Linked DNA regions of Homo sapiens: region 2 is linked to region 1. Evidence: promoter capture Hi-C in human tissues and cell types (Jung and others, 2019). All regions are on one chromosome and are shown on one strand. The core of a region is centred on a gene start or on the middle of the fragment in contact, and the rest is flanking DNA. Distances in the headings are between cores, read along the strand shown.

Region 1 (4,012 bases), core at 1-2,500:
TCAACGTGTTAAGGCCCTTTTTAAAAAGCTAAGACTGGGCCAGGCGCAGTGGCTCACGCCTGTAATCCCAGCACTTTGGGAGGCCGAGATGGGAGGATCACTTGAGGTCAGGAGTTCGAGACCAGCCTGACCAACATGGTGAAACCCCATCTCTACTAAAAATACAAAAATTAGCCAGTGTGCTGGCACATGCCTGTAATCCCAGCTACTCAAGAGGCTGAGGCAGGAGAATCGCTTGAACCTGGGAGACAGAGGTTGCAGTGAGCCAAGATCATGCCATTGCACTCCAGCCTGGGCGACAAGAGCAAAACTCCATCTCAAAACAAAAAAAAAAACAAAAAAAACAAAAACAGAAAAGAAAAGAAAATGAAGCACAGAGAGGTATAGTCACTTTCACTCTTTCACCAACACAGAGCTGGGGAGTGGCAGAGCTGGGATTTTAACTCGGGGACCCGGCTCTGAGCCTGTGATCTGAATTCCTGCCATTGCACCCATCAGCTTCAGTCTAATGTCCAACTCAGGGACTGCCTCTCACGGTGAGCCCTCCCTGAACCTTCTGGCCCCCACGTCCCCACTCCTGATCTGCCCCAGATTCATCTCTGGCTATTGGGTGGGGCAGAAAAAGAGTCCCCTCTCCACCAGGGTGGGGTAAGGGCAGAAAGCCCCCAACAGCCAGGCCCAGAGCACCCAGTTGGAAGTCCCCTGCCAGCCCGGCCTGGCTTGGGGAGGGTCTTACCGCTTCATGTGCTCGCTGGCCACTCCTTGGATGTAAACAGACATTCCCACGTTGAGCCCGCCCGGGATGGGCTGGTAGTAAGGCAGCGTCTGGAGAAGAGGCCTGGTGAGGGGACTCACAAGCCATCTGCCTGTTGCAGCCTTTACCCCTCCCAGAAAAGCCCCCCAGTCCCTTAAGCAGGAGAGAGGAAACCATGGGGGAGGACCAGGTTGAAGATGACGAGGGCCAACAGTTAGACGTGGACACAGACAGCCTGAGGTCAGGGTAGGAGTAAATCGAGGGTCGGGGTCAGCTTTGGGTAAATCAGACCACAGAGTCAGATGGGGCCCCCCAGGATCAGAGTGGGGAAAATTGGTGTGAGGGCTTATGGACGGAGCTGCGGGCGGAGTGGGGCCTGAGCTGGCATCTCACCGGGTTGTAGGTGGGCTGGTAGCCCGGTGCGGGGACATAGGCCATCGCTCGAGGCTGCGCTAGTGGCTGGTCCTGTGAGAAGAGCTGCAGGAGTGGGAGATGGTGGCGGATGGCAGGCGGTGGTGGCTCTTATACCCAGGGTAAGGGAGTGGCTGGCAGGGGAGGGTCCACAGGGCTCCTCTTCTGGGACTCTCAGGCTGTCGGCTTCTCCTAGAGCGCACCCTAGTCTCCCTTCCCTTGCCAGCTTCCCTGGTGACCAGCCAGGACCCAAATCACCTGGGTCCCCTCCCCTACGCCCTCCTGCAAAGAGGAAGTGCTCATGAACTTCGGCCCTGCCAGGGCCTTATCAGAGCCCATAAAACCCTGCCCAGACTTCTGTTGGCAGAGGGAGGGTGAGACCAGGCAGGGCAGGGCAGGCTGCAGGAATGACCCAGGACAGGTGGGCAGCGGAGGAGGAGAACGCGGAGGAACTGCAAATTCCTGCCTCTCCCAGCAACTGTGAAGGGACCTACGTTGATTGCGTGCCCACCACACATCTTTACCACGTATGTTGTATTGTAGGGAGAGTGGTTTAGATTACTAGTGTGTGGAGCCAGAGGTTCTAGGTTCAAATCCTGCCTTTGCCACTTCTCAGCTGTATGATCATGGGTCAGTGCCTTACCCTCAATTTGCCCATGTGCTCATCTGTAAAATGGGGATATAGTAGTATCGGCTGGGTGCAGTGGCTCATGCCTGTAATCCCAGCACTTTGACTGGCCGAGGTGGATGGATCACCTGAGGGCAGGAGTTCGAGACCAGCCTGGCAAAATCCCAGTCTCTACTAAAAATACAAAAATTAGCCAGGCATGGTGGTGGGTGCCTATAATCCCATCTACTTGGAGGCTGAGGCAGGAGAATCACTTGAACCTGAGTGGAGGAGAGTGCAGTGAGCCAAGGTCACGCCACTGCACTCCAGCTTGGATGACAGATGGAGACTCTGTTTCAAAAAAAAAAAAAAAAAAAAAGGAATTCATAAGAGAGGAAACAAGTATTGAATAGCTATCAAAATATTTTAAAAATGAATTTGTGATCCAGTAATGCCTGTATGTTATTAATCTGCCAAATAAGTTCTAGCTGTGGGTCCAACTGCCACTCAGAAAAATAAATAAATAAAGAAAAGAGTAGTATCAACCTTAGGCTGGGTGTGGTGGCTTGTGCCTACAATCCCAGCAATTTGGGAAGCTGAAGCAGGAGGACTGCTTGAGCCCAGGAGTTCAAGACCAGCCTGGGCAACATAGTGAGACCCCCATCTCTACAAAAATAAAATAAAAATTAGCTGGGCATGGTAGCACACATCTGTATTCCTAGCTACTCAGAGGCTGAGGCAGGAGGATCGCTTGAACCCAGGAGTTAAGGTTACAGTGAGCTATGATCATGCCACTGCACTCCAGCCTGGGTGACAGACTAAGAGTCCGTCTCTAAAAATAGCAACAATAATAGTCATAATAATAATAATCATAATAGTATCAACTTCATAGAGTCCTTGATCATTAAGATAATAAATGCTCAGAACAGGACATAGCATATAGAAGTCATTAACTTAATGCTTGGTCTCTTGCAGTCATTCCAAACATAAATCCGGAAGATTGGGATGATATATGGATAAAAAATCCCAAAGTTTTGTTTGCTCATTTTTGAGACAGAGTCTTGCTCTATCACCCAGGCTGCAGTGCAGTGGCACCATCTCAGCTCACTGCAACCTCCACCTCCCAGGTTCAAGGGATTCTCCTGCCTCAGCCTTCTGAATAGCTGGGATTACAGGCTTACTCCACGCCTGGCTAATTTTTGTATTTTTAGTAGAGACCAGGTTTTGCCATGTTGGCCAGGCTGGTCTCAAACTCCTGACCTCAAGTGATCCACCTGCCTCAACCTCCCAAAGTGCTGGAATTACAGGCATGAGCCACTGCACCCGGCCAGAAACCCCAAAGTCCTTTTTTGTTTTGTTTTTTCTTTTTTTGAGACAGAGTCTCACTCTGTCACCCAGGCTGGACTGCAGCAGCATGATCTCAGCTCACTGCAAACTCACCTCCTGGGTTCAAGGATTCTCCTGCCTCAGCCTCCCGAGTAGCTGGGACTAGAGGCACCTGCCACCACACCTAGCTAATTTTTGTATTTTTAGTAGAGACTGGGTTTCAACATGTTGACTAGGCTGGTTGCAAACTCCTGAGCTCAGGCAATCCACCTGCGTCAGCCTCCAAAAGTGCTGGGATTACAGGTGTGAGACGCCAGCATCAGATCCCATGTGCTGTGCAGTGAGAGGTGCCAGGCAGGGCACGAACGCCACCCTCAACCCCAGGGCAGGCAGGGAGACCAGGAAGCCTTGCAACCCAGAGGGACCCCAGCGACTTTTGCTCACTCCCTCCGCCCCGGAATTCCTTGTGCCCCTCGCCTGCCCGCTGCCAGTCTGAATGGCCATCACCTCCATGCCACCCATTCCCATGCATCCAACCTCTAGCCCCAGCCTTCAGGACTGCAGTCTCTGGAGCCCCTAGGTGCATCCCAGCCCCTCCCACCTCTCCTCTATCCAAGAAGGGCACCAGGTTCTTTACTTTGCTTTATTGTTTGTGGGGTGAAGATAAGGCCTTGGGCTTGAGAAACTCATTGTCATAAAGTTATAAACTGGGAAACTGGGTCAGAAGGCATAGAAACAACTGTCATCGCCCATCCTCCCTTTCTGTGGATGAGGCGGGACAAGGCCGGCCCCCTGGCTGGGGCCTGGGACGCGAGGGCTCTCAGAGCTTGGAGAAGGTGACGGTTTTCAGTTCCTTGTTCTCAGTCGTGGCCTGGACCGACTTCACGAGGTCTTGGGTCTGCAGCATGCTCATG
Region 2 (4,012 bases), core at 394-2,893, 540 kb before region 1:
ATCCTGGTATTTGGAGGGTCCTGAAATGTGTAATGTTGCTCAACACCAGGCCAGATCATATATTTCCTCAGCAGAATAGAAACTTGAAAGGTCCTTTAGGAGTGGCCAGTTAGGTGTAGTTCTTGCTGCCAATAACTTTGTGCCTGGCCCTGGGCATCAGAACTTGTGTTAATGGTTACTTGGCTTAAGGTCTTTTGTTTTTGTTTTTGTTTGTTTTTGTTTTTTTGGGTTTTTTTTTGAGACGGAGTCTCTCTCATCGCCCAGTCTGGAGTGCAGTAGCGCGATCTCAGCTCACTGCAATCTCCACCTCCCGGGTTCACATCATTCTCCTGCTTCAGCCTCCTGAGTAGCTGGGACTACAGGCGCCCGCCACCACGCCCGGCTAATTTTTTGTATTTTTAGTAGAGACAGGGTCTCACCACCGTGTTAGCCAGGATGGTTCAAGGTCCTTTGTTGATTCTTCTTGGGAATTTCCACTGGAGGCAAGCAGGGCAACACTTATTTGAGAACCTCTCCTGCACCTTTTTTTTTTTTTTTTTTTTTTTGAGACAGAGTCTTGCTGTGTCACTCAGACTGGAGTGCAGTGGCGCCATCTTGGCTCATTGCAGCCTCTGCCTCCTGGGTTCAAGTGATTCTCCTGCCTCATCCGCCTGAGTAGCTGGGGTTACAGGTGTGCACCACCACACCCAGCTAATTTTTGTATTTTTAGTTGAGATGGGATTTCTTTTCTTTTTTTTTTTTTTTTTTTGAGACGGAGTGTCTCGCTCTGTCGCCCAGGCCGGAGTGCAGTGGCGCGTTCTCGGCTCACTGCAAGCTCCGCCTCCTGGGTTCACACCATTCTCCTGCCTCAGCCTCCCGAGTACTGGGACTACAGGCACCTGCCGCCACGCCCGGCTAATTTTTTGTATTTTTAGTAGAGACGGGGTTTCACCGTGTTAGCCAGGATGGTCTTGATCTCCTGACCTTGTGATCTGCCCGCCTCGGCCTCCCAAAGTGCTGGGATTACAGGCGTGAGCCACCGCGCCCGGCCTGAGATGGGATTTCAACATGTGGGCCAGGCTGGTCTCGAACTCCCGACCTCAGGTGATCTGCCCACCTCAGCCTCTCAAAGTGCTGGGATTACAGGCTCGAGCCACGTGGCCCAGCCCTCTCCTGCACTTCCAAGGGATTTTCGAAATGCATGGACCTCTCAGGTTAATTATAGTGTCTGTAGAACCTTAACTGCTGTAAGCTTTCCAGCAGACTCCACAGACGTGTTATTAGTTGCCACCCTTTCTTTACTTTCCTCCTCACCCCCATGGATAGTCGTGACCCTGGTGGTCAGAGATAAGATGACAGAAGAGCTAAAGTAAAGCTGGTGTTGGCGATCAGCTGGGAATTCTCTAAAACAGCTTCTCACATTATTCTTATCCTCCATAGAAGGAGTGCTTGTCCTACTTGCAGGCAAGGCAGTTTGGTTCCAGGGTAGTTCGAAATCTTATTCACTGATATAGTCAGCAAATGTTTATTGAGCACCCACCAATTGCCAGGCACTGACTCACTCAAATTAGAGCACTGAACAAAATAGACCCCCTCCCCCATCCGTGGCAGACGTGTCATAATGAGAGGAAGACAGTACAATAAATGAACAGATGAATGTATGTCTGGTGATGAGTGTCAGGGTTGGTGTGCTTAGCACTGAAAATGGGGGCTTCTGAGGTTCAAATGGTTGCAGTTCCTAAAGAAGGTTGAGGGCCTTGCCTTCAGGTCACCGCGGGAGACTGGCCCCTTTCCACTGGAAACATTGCTTTGCCCAGTCAGTATTTGAGAGCTCAGCCTGCAATGGAGAAATCACACTTCTCCTCTTTCACCCTGCTCCCCACCCTGTTTCTCATTTTACCCATCCCCAGCCATTTGCAGAATGCATGCAGAGCTTCTGTTTGCCATGTCTGGAGGCTACAGGGGAGGCTGAATAAGGGGTGATAAGCCTGTGGCTCATGTGAGGCGGGAGAGAGCCCAGCAGGAGTCACACTGAAATGACTCCATTAGCCCCAGGAGGCCTTGGCCCACCGGCCATGACTAATGTGGACATTAGAGTGTGGATTCCGATGTCCTGCAAGATCCTCCTCACAAGTGTCATTTCATGGTTTTTTTCTGGCAACATCTTTTTGAAAACTCCCTGTAAAGAAGTGCTGATGTTGATGCTGAGGCCCAGGAACTTTGGAGTTTATTTACCTTTTTTTGTTGTTTTATTTTCCTTGGCAGGTGAAGTAGGAGCTAGAGTTTACTTATTTTGAAGTTTATTTGAAATATGCTTTTTATGATTAGAAGCCATTTTAGAAATGAGGGCGAGGCCGGGCGCGGTGGCTCATGCCTGTAACCCCAGCACTTTGGGAGGCCGAGGCAGGCGGGTCACGAGATCAGGAGATCGAGACCATCCTGGCTAACACGGTGAAAACCCGTTTCTACTAAAAATACAAAAAAATTAGCCTCGCGTGGTGGCGGGCGCCTATAGTCCCAGCTATCTGGGAGGCTAAGGCAGGAGAATGGCGTGAACCCAGGAAGTGGAGCTTGCAGTGAGCTGAGATCATGCCACTGCACTCCAGCCTGGGCAACAGAGCAAGACTCTCTCAAAAAAAAAAAAAATGTTATGCTAAGTGAGAGGAGCCACTTACAAGAGACCACCACATGTTTGGCCGGGTACAGTGGCTCATGCCTGTAATCCCAGCACTTTGGGAGGCCGAGGTGGGTGGATCACGAGATCAGGAGTTCAAGACCAGCCTGGCCAAGATGTTGAAACCCCATCTCTACTAAAAATACAAAAAAAAATTAGCCGGGTGCAGTGGCAGGCGCCTGGAGGCTGAGGCAGGAGAATCGCTTGAACTCGGAGGGTGGAGGTTGCAGTGAGCCGAGATCACGCCACTGCAGTCCAGCCTGGGAGACAGAGTGAGACTCCATCTCAGAAAAAAAAGAGGGCAAGAATTCACATGTTGTTTTACTCACACGTGTTGGAGATGGAGCTCAGGGTGATTCCTGACTGGGCCCAGGGTCCATGGCCTCAGAAGTCCCTTAATCTGAAGTCCTTCACTTTTATGTGATACTGCTGGGCACAATGGCTCACGCTTGTAATCCCAGCACTTTGGGGGGCTGAGGCAGGTGGATTGCTTGACTGAGGAGTTTCAACATGGTGAAACAAAAAATACAAAAAACTAGTCAGCCTGTAGTCCCAGCTATGTGGGAGGCTGAGGTGGGAGAATTGCTTGAGCCCAGGAAGTGGAGGTTGCAGTGAGCCGAGATCGCACCATTGCACTCCAGCCTGGGCGACAGAGCGAGACCCCATCTCAAAACAATTTTATATGTGATAGTTTGTCCATGTGTATGCCAGGGTCTGTCATTTAGAGTGTATGGCATGTTCTTAAAGGGGTGGGGGAACAAAAAGATACTATAATAGTTTGTGACCTTTTGAAGGGCCGCTCTACATGAATAGATATATAGTATGTCTGTGGTGTTAAAATTTTGTGGGGCGATTAGGAAAAACATTTCCAAAAAGTCTTAGGGGGAAGGTAGTAATGAAAAAAGGTTGAGAAACACCATTCCAGAGAGAGGGTCCAAGAGCTTTCCTCAGTTCTGAAAATGGTCCATGATTTGCACAAGGTAAAGAATGGCTGAATGCGAATTAACAGCAGACAGTTTCTTAGAAGATTTGAAACTATTGTTTCCTTCCCAGCTATTCAGATGGACTGCTCGGGTTCTTGTTATGGATTGAGGCGAGGGTAGACTTAATAGTCTTGTTTCAGAGTGGAATATGGAGTGATGGTAGGCATGAGTAGTGATGAGTTGCATTGTGCTGATAGGTTATGAAATGTAAATTTTTTATTTTTTGATATGGAGTCTCTGTCGCCCAGACTCTGGAGTGCAGTGGTGCGATCTCGGCTCACTGCAACCTCCACCTTCTGGGTTCAAGCGATTCTCCTGCCTCAGCCTCCTGAGTAACTGGGATTACAAGCATGCACCACCACGCCCGGCTCATTTT

Evidence for each region. The method cuts DNA at HindIII sites, captures the fragments that hold promoters and counts their contacts. A contact is called where the count stands out against the background at its distance.
Region 2: a fragment that was not itself captured here is called in contact with the fragment with the promoter of LGALS4 in region 1 in 1 of the 25 tissues and cell types used here (pancreas).

The regions. Positions count from the first base shown.
Region 1 is chr19:38,811,695-38,815,706 of GRCh38, forward strand. It overlaps LGALS4 (galectin 4), which reads right to left and starts at 1,251. Exons shown (of 10, transcript NM_006149.4): 1 at 1,148-1,251; 2 at 737-825. The coding sequence starts at 1,192. It overlaps ECH1 (enoyl-CoA hydratase 1), which reads right to left. Exons shown (of 10, transcript NM_001398.3): 10 at 3,728-4,012. The coding sequence ends at 3,919. The HindIII fragment of the contact is 29,723 bases long and covers 1-4,012 here.
Region 2 is chr19:38,268,879-38,272,890 of GRCh38, forward strand. All of the region lies in intron 1 of SPINT2 (serine peptidase inhibitor, Kunitz type 2), which reads left to right. Among named protein-coding and RNA genes, the nearest start is that of SPINT2, 6.3 kb to the left of the region's middle. The HindIII fragment of the contact is 5,415 bases long and covers 1-4,012 here.